Regions from separate parts of the Homo sapiens genome. Here all the other regions are linked to region 1. Evidence: promoter capture Hi-C in 16 types of primary human blood cells and fetal thymus (Javierre and others, 2016). All regions are on one chromosome and are shown on one strand. Each heading gives the region's core, a stretch centred on a gene start or on the middle of the fragment in contact. The rest is flanking DNA. Distances are from core to core; before and after follow the strand shown. Region 1 holds the start of CCDC171 (coiled-coil domain containing 171). Region 2 has its middle 190 kb from the start of TTC39B. Region 3 overlaps TTC39B (tetratricopeptide repeat domain 39B). Region 4 overlaps TTC39B (tetratricopeptide repeat domain 39B).

Evidence for each region. The method cuts DNA at HindIII sites, captures the fragments that hold promoters and counts their contacts. A CHiCAGO score of 5 or more calls a contact.
Region 2: a fragment that was not itself captured here is called in contact with the fragment with the promoter of CCDC171 in region 1 in 1 of 17 cell types (fetal thymus); the score reaches 8.6 in fetal thymus.
Region 3: a fragment that was not itself captured here is called in contact with the fragment with the promoter of CCDC171 in region 1 in 6 of 17 cell types (non-activated CD4 T cells, total CD4 T cells, activated CD4 T cells and 3 more); the score reaches 7.6 in non-activated CD4 T cells.
Region 4: a contact is called between a fragment that was not itself captured here and the fragment with the promoter of CCDC171 in region 1, in 10 of 17 cell types (total CD8 T cells, total CD4 T cells, non-activated CD4 T cells and 7 more). The highest score is 13.2, in total CD8 T cells.

Annotation. Positions count from the first base shown.
Region 1 is chr9:15,551,288-15,554,535 of GRCh38, reverse strand. It overlaps CCDC171 (coiled-coil domain containing 171), which reads right to left and starts at 1,493. Exons shown (of 26, transcript NM_173550.4): 1 at 1,234-1,493. RefSeq lists enhancers at 1,186-1,355, 1,251-1,896 and silencers at 1,636-1,725, 1,736-1,795. The HindIII fragment of the contact is 6,396 bases long and covers 1-2,824 here.
Region 2 is chr9:15,119,496-15,122,743 of GRCh38, reverse strand. No RefSeq gene overlaps it. Among named protein-coding and RNA genes, the nearest start is that of TTC39B, 190 kb to the left of the region's middle. The HindIII fragment of the contact is 1,489 bases long and covers 928-2,416 here.
Region 3 is chr9:15,253,943-15,257,190 of GRCh38, reverse strand. The region is part of intron 2 of TTC39B (tetratricopeptide repeat domain 39B); the gene reads left to right. Among named protein-coding and RNA genes, the nearest start is that of TTC39B, 52 kb to the left of the region's middle. The HindIII fragment of the contact is 1,194 bases long and covers 1,044-2,237 here.
Region 4 is chr9:15,278,700-15,281,947 of GRCh38, reverse strand. The region is part of intron 1 of TTC39B (tetratricopeptide repeat domain 39B); the gene reads left to right. Among named protein-coding and RNA genes, the nearest start is that of TTC39B, 27 kb to the left of the region's middle. The HindIII fragment of the contact is 2,092 bases long and covers 401-2,492 here.

The DNA.
Region 1 (3,248 bases), core at 244-2,743:
GGTTAGGTGGTTTGCCTGTGGGGACGCAGCTCATAAATGGCTGAGCCCCAAGACTAACACAGAAAGCTACAAACTAAGACTATGCCCTTCATCTTTCCTCTTAGCAGGTTGCACTGCCTTTGTTTCCTCTGCATTTTATGAAAAACCATGTTCATCTTCTGCTCTACCACTGTTTTGTTGAGAGTAGGAACTAACAGTTAAATAAAATAAGTGACATGCCGGGCGCAGTGGCTCACGCCTGTAATCCCAGCACTTTGGGAGGCCGAGGCGGGCGGATCACGATGTCAGGAGATCGAGACCATCCTGGCTAACACAGTGAAACCCCGTCTCCACTAAAAATACAAAAAAATTAGCCGGGCGTGGCGGCGTGCGCCGGTTGTCCCGGCTGCTGGGGAGGCTGAGACAGGAGAATGGCGTGAACCCGGGAGGCGGAGCTTGCAGTGAGCCGAGATCGCGCCACTGCACTCCAGCCTGGGTGACAGAGCAAGACTCCATCTCAAAAAAAAAAAAAAGTGACAAAATCGTATGTTCTTTTCTCCAATATTATGAAAACCATAAAACATCGGTATGTCATGTATTCAAAAGAGCTGGACACCAACTCTAATAAACAAAATAAAGACGTATTTATCTCATTTACCTAAAATGTATACATGAAATATGTATTTTCTTAGGATCAATATCATAATGGAATAAAAAAATTCAAAAAGTCGGCTCCATTTCTGCAGAAAATTTACAGCTTCGGGAAAACGCACAGCTGACTCAGATTCTAAGTCTCTCAGAGTCCTGGAGGGTAGGTAGAAGCTGCAGGTGACAGTCTAGCACAACTCATTCCCGTTTATCAAACATCTGTAGAGTGTCTAGTGTGTGGCCGGCATTTAAAAAGGGGAGAGCGGGCTGAAAGACGTGGTCCCTATCCTCGAGGGGCTTACTGATTCTCGGGAACGAAAGCGCTCCGCAGCAGTAACCCTAAGAAGCTCCAAATCCCGGTCCTCTGCCTCCCCTCTGGTCCCCATCCGGCGCTCTGGTACAGCCTCAGCGATCTCTGGCTAGGATGCTCCACGGAGATCTTCCTCCAGGTGGGCGGGGAGACCCAGCCCAGGGAGCTGGAGGCGTGCCCCAAAGCCTACGCCAACAGCCCCAGGGCCGCCCCAAACTCACTCAGGGGCCCCTACAACCCTCTCAACACCTCCCTCCCAAGTCGTCCGCCTCGAAGCCCCCACACCGTGCGGTTACCTCAGGGGTCTCGCGTGATCCGTGCTGCACACCCAAGACCCCAGGGGCCGCTCCAAGTCTCACGGGTGAAAGGAGGCCCAGGCAGCCCACGGGAATAAGAGCAAAAACTGTTGGAACACGACGGACTCCAGGACCCGGGAGGAGGGGGACAAACAGCAAAGGGGTACAGAAGGGGAAGAGCCCCCGGGAGGTGAAGTTTACAACTGCCACTTCCGGAGCTGAAAACACTCCGCTTCTCTCGCAGACCTTCCCAGACTTTCACAGGTCAGCCCAACTCAGGCCCGGCCCCACTTTTTCCTCCCGCCTCCCGCAGCCCTCAGCTTGCAGCTCCTGGATACGTACTCCGAGAACGCTGGCTCGGATTGGAAGAGCCCGCCCGCCAAGCAGCGCGCCTTCGCTGAGGGACGAACGGGCGCATGCGCCGTTGCTGGGGAGCGGCGGGCTCGCGACCGCACGCGCTCTCGCTCCAGGAGCTCCGCGTCCCCGCGCGGGGGTGCGCCCTGCCCACGCGCTGCTGTGGCTTTTCAGCGTGAGGTGTCCGCGTTCCTGTCTCAGTCGCCAGAGCCGAGTGGAAATGCAGATTTCCAGCTTCTAACCCCTTTTCCCTGCCTGCTGAATAAAAACCTAAGAGGTCGGATCCCAGATCCTGCTTTTTGAAACTGGTTCTTCTGCCCATCTTTAGAGCCACAGCAACGGTGGGCTGGTCCCGGGGCCTGGGGAGAAATTCTCTGGGCTCGGGTTCTGCCCAACTGCCTGGTTTACCTCTGTCTGGACAGCTCTCTGCCTGCACAGGGCATCCTGTCCCCTCTTCCCGTCCCCATTGTATCCCAGCTGGGAGTGGTGAGCAGGGTCGGAAGAATGCATTGATGCTGCTTGCAGTGCGTTTCATTATCAACATTACGTAACCAGGCACATCGTGGAAAACGCCTCGGAGCCTTAGCATGTGTGTTCCCTATCTCTTTCCTCGCTTCTCTCACTTTTCTCTGACACACACACACACACACACACACACACACACACACACACACACACCGTCCTCTTATTGATAATTTATACTTTGGTTCCTCCCGGTGGCTGCTTCACAATCTGCTGCCGCCTAAGGGAGACTGGAAAACCAACTCCTCTTTTGTTCCTTAACTTTTGAAAGCCTATTCTTCCAGAGAACAATGCAAATTGACAGGATTTGGTCAAAGATTTTTATCTTCACCACCACCACCTCCTCTGCACAAAAAGGTGTTTAATGCAAAACGAGCCTTCTATACTAAACTGGGTCCTTGTTGATTGTAATCAACCTGAAACCAGGTGTAGGGGCCGTCTTTTCTCTCTCCCATGGGAGAGCCAACGGTCATAAATGCAAACACAAATTGAGATTAAAACCTCCTTGATTCTTGTAGCACTGAAACCTTAATTGGTTTGATTTTAGTCATTTACATCTAAAACGGAGGCCTGTCCCTGATTCTTTTTACTAGAGCCATAAAGAGGACAATTGCTCCAGAGGAAATAAAGGGAAAAAATAGCCCACTCTAAAGTTTAGAAATGAAATGGAAAATTACAACTGACTAATGAGATTAGAACTTTTATGTTACAAGCTTTAAAAAATATTTTTAAATTTTATTTTTTTCTTTTTCTTTTTTTTTTTTTTTTTTTTGAAACAGGGTTGTTCTCTGTTGCCCAGGCTAGAGTACAGCGGCACAATCACGCCTCGCTGCAGCCTAGACCTTCAGGACTCAAGCCATCCTCCTGCCTCAGCCTCCTGAGTAGCTGGAACTACTTAAAATTTCATTTGTGTTGGCCGGGCGCGGTGGCTCACGTCTGTAATCCCAGCACTTTGGGAGGCCGAGGTGGGCGGATCATGAGGTCAGGGGACCGAGACCATCCTGGCTGACACGGTGAAACCCTGTCTCTACTAAAAATACAAAAAAAATTAGCTGGGCGTGGTGGCGGGCGCCTGTAGTCCCAGCTACTCGGGAGGCTGAGGCAGGAGAATGGCGTGAACCCGGGTGGTGGAGCTTGCA
Region 2 (3,248 bases), core at 423-2,922, 430 kb after region 1:
ATTATTTCAGGTTACTTTATTTTGGTAAAGATTAAAGCAGATGGGATTTATTTATTTATTTATTTATTTAATTTTTGAGCCAGAGTCTCCCTCTGTCACCCAGGCTGCAGTGCAGCGGCACAATCTTGGCTCCCTGCAGCCTCTGCCTCCTGGGTTCAAGCAATTCTCCTGTCTCAGCCTCCCGAGTAGCTGGGATTACAGGCGTGCACCAACACGCCTGGCTAATTTTTGTATTTTTAGTAGAGACACAGTTTTGCCATGTTGGCCAGGCTGGCCTCAAACTCCTGACCTCAGGGTGCTCCACCCGCCTCGGCCTCCCAAAGTGCTGGGATTACAGGCGTGAGCCACTGCACCCGGCCTGATGGGACATGTTTATTATGCTGACTCAGGTAGACTGGAATCTCCTGTTTTCAGGAAAAACTGGTCTGTTAAGGGATCTATCTGCTTCCTTAAAGTTTCAATTTGATGATGGGACATTTAGCATGTGTGACTCCATTTTGTTTTGTTTTGCCCTGTTGGGCCTGAAATCCCAGCTACTCAGGCAGCTGAGGCAGGAGAATCGCTTGAACCCAGGAGGTGGAGGGTGCAGTGAGCTGAGATTGCACCACTTCACTCCAGCCTGCCAGCCTGGGCAACAGAGTGAGACTCTGTCTCAAAAAAAAAAAAAAAAAAAAAAGTTTCAGTTTGATGATGGGGCCTTTAGCATGTGTGACCCCATTTTGTTTTGTTTTGTTAGTCCAGGAGCTCAGTTCAAAACAATGACTTCCTATGGTTTTTGTTTAACACCTGCTACCTGATAATGGCTTCCTTTTCTACTTGCTCAGTGCCATAGTTCTGCTCTCTAACCCGTGCATTCTGGGCTGAGTACCTTCAGTCCAGAAAAAATTTTCCTACTTTCATGTAGTCTACATACGCATATTCAAAGCTTTAAACAATGTCTGTAACTTACATCAGCTGGGAGCCTTTGTTCTGATGTCTAGATAAAGTTTAAGATAAAGTGGCTTGAAACCACAGCCTGTAGATGTAAGATGCAGACTTCTTCAATTTCTTCCAAAAACTACACCCACACAAAGCATCTGTAAGCACAGTGAATTTTAGTTTAGGAAACTCAGTTGAGTAGAGTTTAGTTTACTTAAGTAGAGTTTGAATTAGGTTGAGTTGGAGCTGATTCAAGTATGAATTGAGAAGGGTTTTAACTGAGTAGAGAAGAATTTGATTTGAGTAGGGATTGATTTGGGTAGAGAATGAGTTACATAGAAGTTGGCTTGAGTAGAGTTTGAGTTGCGTAGAGGTTGTGTTGAGAAGGTGCTGAGTTATGTAGAGATTGAGTTTTACAAAGACTGAGTACTTCAGAGAAAGTGTTGAGGAGTTTGGTGGGAGATTTGGATGGCACAAGGAACAGAGGTCTCCATTTACATAGAATAAGAAATTAAAAGTCTATATTAAGCTCTCCAAAACCCTTTAAGGCCCTTCCATTTGGGGTCGTCCCATGGCTCTTTCCAGATGGAAAAGGGAGAAAGGGTTTCTTCATAGGGTCTTGTGCTTGTTCTGCTCTCTTTTCCTACTTTTCTTTCCTCTCCTCGACTCATTTAAACAACAAAGAAATTCCTTTCCTTGTCCTCAGAGCAGTTTCAAGTGTTTCTCTGATGGCCAGATGCTCAGTGTCTCAATTTATACTGCAAGTGCTCGTCAAAGCGTTTTTCAGAACCTATTCCATCCCTAGGAGGGCATGGTGCAACTGTTAAAATAATACATTTTTTCCTACCTCATCTTAAATTGGACTAGTGATAAATTACAAAATGTTTATTCTCTGTCTTCTTTCTTTTTGGTATACATTGACTAGAATGCTAGAAGTACATTAGTGGATATTGACATGAAGAACAAAAAGGAAAACTCAGTGTTCACTCATTGGAAAATGCTAAGATATACATATAGGTCAGCCCATATATTAATAGAGTCCTTTATGTTTCCAACAAATGAACTTGTCAAAGTGGCAATGGTAATTTATTTAAAGGGAGCCATGTCAAATCGTCTATGATGAAAAGATGCCACTATACCATAGTGTCATCCAAATCTTTCCATATATATTTGTGAAATTATAAAATCCCATTTGGTAAGCATACAAGTAGCTGAAATGACAGTTCCCACATTAGATCTAAAAGTTCAAGGCAAATTAAGATAGTAGGCACCACATGTTTACCAGGTGCTTAGTACCGTTCTGGGTATAAAAGATGCATGAGTCACAGTCCTTTGCTTCAGGGAAGTTGCAAATCATATTAGTGAAATAAGATATAAGTAGAAACAATTTTTAGATCATATGAGAAAGCATATTTAAGGACTAAGCTGTGGGGTCAAGCTCTGTGTTGTAGGATTTTGGAGAAGAGAAGGATGTGATGGTTTGGTCAGATTAAAAGCTTTTGAGAGGGAACTAGAACTTCAACTGTGCCTGAGCAAGAGAGGTTGGAAACACCAGGTGAGGAGAAGGTTTTGGATAAAGCTGGAGTTGTGGGAATGGGTTGAATGAGAGTGAGGAATAGGAAGGAGGGAGACCTATGGTAGAGAAGTATTTCTTGGGATCAGCTAGGTAAGGTGGGCATAGATTGGATTCCAGGCTGAAGAGACTGGAGTTTTCTTCACAGACAGAGGGACATCTCCCAGATATGACTGTCCACAAAAAACAAAGAAAGATACAATCGTTTAACTATGAAAACATTTTACAGTGTCGCAGAGCTCCTCCTGTGGTTTTATAATAATTATGGTTCTTAGCAGAAAGAGGGAGAACAATTTTTACTTTCTCAATGAGAATGAGGTGAAGAGAACATTTTTTTAAGTACCTCAAATTCATTTGTTTTGCATAATGTGAATTAAAACAAAACTTGCTGTTGGCTCTGTAACATTTTTGCCTGCCTGTGTCTGTTGAATTGCCAGCCTGCCTTGAAATAAAATCCACTTAAAAACTATTTTCTCTTCAAGAGGAGCAGGCTTGTGAAGCTTATTGTGTTCAGCTGGTGAAGTCCCAGAGACGCTGCTAGTGCTGTCAAAGACCACCATCAATGATTCCCTCAGCGTGAGGAGACCTCTTCTGCTGGCTGTTGTAACAGAAGGATTGAACATGTTTCAGACATACCTGCTAAATGAGAGCGCAGACCCTCAGCATACAGGCATGTTTGTGTTTGGCGTCCACCTATCTCTTGCCTTTCTTCTTTCCAGACCCTCTTTCATTCTCCAAAATTCCCAGTTCTCCTTGC
Region 3 (3,248 bases), core at 391-2,890, 300 kb after region 1:
TATAGAGCTATAGTTTAATCTGTATGCTTTATATGACATCATTTTATCTGTATTTAGCTTGCAAAGGTCGCTTTTTAAAAAATCACAAGACTGTTGTCACACCTAAAACATAATAATATCCGTCCAGTAACTGGTCAGTGCTCAAATTTCTCCGACTGTCTCATTTATTTTTTTAACAGTATGTTTGTGTGAATCAGGACAAGAGTGATCCTTTTAGAAATTAAATGGGATGATGTCACTGCTTGCTTAAAATCCATCCATGAGTTTTCCTGTCTAAAGCTGAAGACCCAATCTACCTTTGTTCATAAGGTTTGAGGTGGTTGGGCTCCCACATACTGCTTCTGCCTCATCGAGGGCAACTCTTGCCCTCATGCATGACCCTCCAGCCACAAGCCTTATACAGTTTTTTGTGAGAGTAAACCCTGTGCTGCTCCGGATTGGAGCGTGTTTGCCCTCACTCTTTTGAGGGCTTTTTGCTGGCCATCCTCCACTCTCAGCTGGCGTGTCCTCCCACTTTCTCAGTGACTCCACCAAAACAGTTAGTCTTCCCCCATTTCTCTGTCTTGGCATCTTGTTTGTTTCTATCACTCCATTTCTCATTTTGCAGTTAATTGTTACTTGTTTTTTGATCATCTGTTTTTTTGAGCTCCAAGTTCTATAACGATGGGTCTGATCTACTTTGCTTGTCATGGTGTACTTGGCACCTATGCACCATGCTTGTCACATAGTAGGTGCTCAGTATATATGTGTTGAAAAAATGAATGTGTGAAATTAATATACTGTCTTAGTCCATTTGGGCTGCCGTAACAAAATCCATTAGACTGGGTAATTTATAAACAATGGAAATTTATTTCCTCACTGCTTTGTAGGCCGCAAGGTCCAAGAGTAAAGTGGCAGCAGATTGAGTGTCTGGTGAGGGCCCATTCCTCATAGATGGTGCCTTCTTTGTGTCCTCACGTGGTAGAAGGAAGCAGAAAATAGTGGAAAGAGGGGAAAGAAAAAAAAAAGAAGAAGGAAAAAGGGCAAAGAGACTCCCTCAAGCTTTTTTGTTAGGGTACTAATCCCATTTACAAGGGTGGAACCCTCATGACCTAATCACCTTCCAAAGGCCCCACGCCATCACTTTGGGGGTTAGGTTTCAACATATGAATTTTGGAGGGACACAAACATTAAACCATAGCATGTACTATTAAGAAAATATAGGTGGATCCTCAGAGTAGACTGCTAGGATTTGCAGTAAATTAAAGAAAAAAATGTAGCCACCATTGAGTTCCTAATGAGTATAGGGCACAGTGATAATTGCTGTGATTATTCAAATGGTTAGTTAAGGGATCTTTTGGAATACACAGTTAAAAAAAAAGACTGTGGCTGATTGTGTTCATAAACTCAAATGCATATATAATTAAATAAAGTCCAAATGTTTGGGCATAGTAAACACTATCCATAATTGTTGGTGTCTCCATTGCCATTTTTCTCTGAAGGGCTGACTCAGTTTTCACTTGACGTTTGCATAAATGAGTGTCAGAATCTTAAAGGATACAGTGAGCTCATTGCCTTTTGTTAACTTTTTACCCTGTTTCACCTGACATCCTTTTTTTTTTTCTGACGCCTTCATCCATTCCCTTTTCATCTACCTCACGATAAAAATAGGAACCTAAGATGACTAATAAAACACCCAAAAGCATATACTTGGGAGCTTTGTCTTTTGAAATGCGCCAAACTTCTTCATTGCTTGTGTTCCGAAAATCATCAGCCTCTCTGGTCTCCTTTCTTTTTCCTTCTTCCCTCTTTCCCCCTTTTGTCTCTGCTTGTGGAACATTATTCTACGACCAGAGAATAGAACTCCTCAAAGGCATAGTGATATTTGGTTTAGGTACATTTTTGAATAGTGTATAGTTCAGTACCATGCATGATGCACATCTAATAAATAGTCTGAAGACTTAATAGCCATCAACAAATTGGAAGAACCCTGAAATTGCCTAAAACTGAAGAGATATTTGGGGATTTACATATAACTTTTATTATTGTATAAAGTAATTTCTATGTTATTTATTTTATTTTTATTGTCTAGAATGAAAATATTCATACCAGCAGCGGTCTTTTAAAATTACCTGATGAGCAGAATGTTATAGTTAGAATGAAAAATGTTAAAACTCCATATAGCTCTGATGAATTAACCTTTTCAAAGGTGTGGGCATAGTATTTGGTCTCCCCTGTAGGCAATACAGCTATAAGCTTTTGATTTTTATTTATTTTAGTAGTTAGGAAAGTTTTCTGCAAGCGTAACTTGACTTTTATGCAGCAAAAAAAAAAAAAAAGTGTGTGTGTTTGTGTGTGTGTGTGTGTGTGTGTGTGTGTGTGTATAAAGTTATGTGTGTCAGATCTCCCATTGGCTTAAGGGATTCTTTGCCATTTAAAAATTTCAGCTTAATTTGAAAGAAGTTATACCCATAATGTGTAGTTTGCTTTGATTAAAATAATTTTATGTAATCACTGTAAGAAAATTAAGCCTGTGATTGGTATTTAAAAAGTGTATTTTAAACGATACATTCTCTTTGTCTCGGTACAGTAGATGGGTCCTGTATTTTCAGCAGAACTTAGTTACTAAACTTGTATAAGGATACCTTTTCAGACAATCCCATAGAAGTAAAAATTATTTGGTAATATGTATTTAACCTACAAAATAATTTATTTGAAAGCATTTTGTAAAACTGCAAAGCGTAAAGCAAACGTAACATAGTATATACATATAATATATTGAAGAGCACTGCTGTTTTTGTAAAAGCATTATTTCTTTCATGATGTAAGACATTTTCATATAGCTGTTTCATACAGTCTCACAATGGCTACCTTAAACTATAAAAACACTTTTTAAAGATTTAAAAAAAGAACACATTAAAAAAAATCTAACAAATATCTAAGAAATAAAATTATCCCTGGTCATTTCCCAGTTCTGAGACCTACTCCATCAAAACAGGGAAAAGGAAGGAGAGGATGCCTTCATTGCATGGTTCTTTTTTTTTTTAATGCTGGTTTTATGAATTTATAGACACCCCAGGTTTAACAAGCCTTTATTGAACACATCCTTTACATCAAGCATTAAGCTATTTTAAGGGGACAGACTTGACAAAGGGGATGTGGGTATGGAATGGGAGTGTCCAGGAAGTCTCGAGTCCACATTTTTTCTCCAGTCAAGTCTCAATGTTGACACTGAGCCAGGGGCCAGGGTGCAAAGGGGAGAGGTTCAC
Region 4 (3,248 bases), core at 197-2,696, 270 kb after region 1:
TCAACACTTTGGGAGGCTGAGGTGGGTGGATCACTTGAGGTCAGGAGTTTGAGACCAGCCTGACCAACATAGTGAAACCCCACCTCTACCAAAAAATACAAAAATTAGCCGGACTACATGGCATGTGCCTGTAGTCCCTGCTACTCAGGGAAGCTGAAGTGGGAGAATTGCTTGAACCTGGGGGCGGAGATTGCAGTGAGCCTAGATTGTGCCACTGCACTCCAGCGTGAGTGACAGAGTGAGACCCTGTCTCAAAAAGAAAAAAAAAATGCAGAAGAGGCATTTAGCTTTTTGCCATTTTTTTTTTTTTTTTTTTTTTTTTGCTGTTGCAGGGGGGATGTTGGTAGGAGTGGAGGATAATTTAGTCTTAGCAGAAATTAATATGTAGAAGTCTTAAGCTTTTCTCCCTTAGATTGCCCCAAAAGGACAGATTTAACTTCTCAGCATCTCTGCTTTGCTAATACCAAAATTACCTATAAGGATAGATACCAAGAGAGGGAGGGCACTGTATGAGTGGTCCAGTATTTGGACACACAACTTTTCCCTGCAGTAATCATAATGAAAGTAATAATTTAATGGGAGCTGACATTATTTCGTACTTACTGTGAATAGGCATCATGTTAAAGCCTACGTACATCTCATTTAATTCTTCAACCCCATGAGTTTGATGGCACTGTTATTCCCATTTTACAGGTGATGAATAAGAATCTTAGAGAAGTACCTTGCCCAAGACCACACACAGTGGGTTTTTGTTGTTGTTGTTGTTGTTTTTAGATTTTTTTTCCTTTTAGTTTAGAAAGAGAAAAGGAAGGAAATAAAGAAAGTTTGTTAAAATAACTATTGCATAAAAGGACATCTGGGCTAGATGCTGGGATGTACCTCTTCCAGAATAGGGACTGATGATTTAAACAAAAAAAAAGACAAAAAAGAAAGAAAAAAGAAATAAATTATTCTTCTCAATACTGTTTGGGATAATTGCATTGTTTTCATCTTTTCAACACACAAAACAGCCTCTTTGGGAAGCACTGTGATGAGACTGGCAAGAATGGCTGGTGCCTCGACTCTCTAGAATGGTAGGGGGAGCCCTGAGAGAGGCATTCTACTAAACCCCACTGCAAGCATTCGCATTCTTTACTCCTCCTACTTTTGGAATTGGGAAGGACCAGACTCAAGCTAAGTTCTCAATATATTAACTTTTAGGGATACCCACTGCCTCTCCTGACCCTCTTCTAGCAAACTCCCCTGCTGGCCCCTTTTCCGCCAGCTAGCTGCAGCAACCATACCAAGGGCCAGGAGGCTGCTTGGTGGTCTCAGCTAAGCAAAAGCGGGGTATCATCATCACTGTTCGGGCCACACATAGTTGGTAAGTGATGGAGCTGATAGCGGGACTCTGCAGTCTTTGTTCTTAGTGTTATTTCTCCCTTGAATTTAAATCTTGAAGGCAGTGAGTTTTTTGGGCTAAATAATTTCTCGTATTTGCCAACCCTTTGAACTTTATAGATTTTTAACATTTGTTTCTCACTCTATCCTCAAAGCATCCAATGCGGTAGGGAAGGAAACCTGATGTTTCATTCATTGCGCAAACGTAGGCAAACTTTTTCTGTAAAGGGACAGCGTAAATATTTTTGGCTTTGAGGACTCTGTGATCTCAGTTGCAGCTATGCAGTTTGTGACTGTTACAGGAAAGCAGCCTTAGACAATATGTCAATTGATTGAGTTGTGGCTGTGTTTCAATAGCACTTTATTTACAGGCCGGGCACGGTGGCTCACACCTGTAATCCCAGCACTTTGGGAGGCCAAGGTGGGCCGATTACTTGAGGCCAGGAGTTCAAGATCAGCCAGGCCAACATGGCAAAACCCTGTCTCTACTAAAAATACAAAAAAATTAGCCGGGTTTGGTGGCATGTACTTGTAGTCCCAGCTACTTGGGAGGCTGAGGCAGGAGAATCGCTTGAACCCGGGGGGTGGAGGTTGCACTGAGCCAAGATCATGCCACTGCACCCCAGCCTGGGTGACAGAGTGAGACTCCGTCTCAAAAAAAAAAAAAAAAAAAAAGAAAAGAAAAAAAGTACTTTATTTACAAAAAAAGAAAAGGCAGCAGGTGGAATTTGGCCCTGTTTGTAGTTTCCTGACACCAATAGTAATAGACTGATCTATTTGGGGACATCAGGACATGTCAGCCACAGAGAAGGTGACTTAGGATTCTTAGTGCCAAGCATTGTGTGTGGTCCACTTCCTAACCTTTCCCAGGCTGCAGCACACAGTGCCACTCACGAGTACCTTTAGGAGATTCAAGGCACAACAATAATAGTGATAATAACTCATCTTTCTACTGGATGCATTGTTCTAAGTGCTTTTCACATCTGACATTAATCTATGGACAGCTGAGTGACATGGGAAATTGAGGTCCTAAGGAAAATAGCTTGCTCAAGGTCACAGAGCCAGTGGGTGGTGAAACTGGGATTTGAACCCAGATAGAGTGGTTCTAAGCTTGTGAGCTCAAGTCCCTTTACCTTCTCTCTCCCCCATTATAGGATTTCTCAGTTTGAGATCATCTTTGAAGCCTTACTCTTTGGGAACTGCCTCTTCCGAACACTCATATTGAGTGGATAAGGTTCTGTGTTCTCTTTTTGAGACATTTATTTTGGAGCAGAGCTACAAGTAAAGGACTGCTAACTCTGCCAATTTTCTGTTACAGCTGGATAGTTCAAGGGTGGAGCAAGATCATGCAGGAGGTTTCTTTTTGCTCATCCCTGGTCTACACCAGAGACTTTCAACTGCAGAAGCACTTTAATAACAGTAGAGATGATTTATTAAGTGTCTGTTTTGTTGATACTGTGCTAAGTGCATTAAATATATAATATTGGTTAAAATCTCACAATGCTGTAAATTAAGTGGTATTATTCCCATTGCACAGATGGAAAAGTTGAGGCTCAGTTATGGATAAGTTATTTAAATCTCTGAGCCTTAGTTTCCTCATGTGGACATTATGATAGTCCTATCTGTTAGGGTCACTATGAAGATTAAATGAGTTAACACATGTTAAGGATTCTGAGCAATGTTTGGCACTCAATAGTGTTACCTGTTATTGTTGCTGTTATTATTAGAACATAGTAGTAATTGTAGAGGTGAAATGCTCACTTTTTATGAGTATTTGTGAATTAGAAATAAGCACGTGAGTATTCAACATAGTGCCTAGGTGTTAATAGATGGAACTTATGATTATTTATAGGAAGAAACTGTGTAAA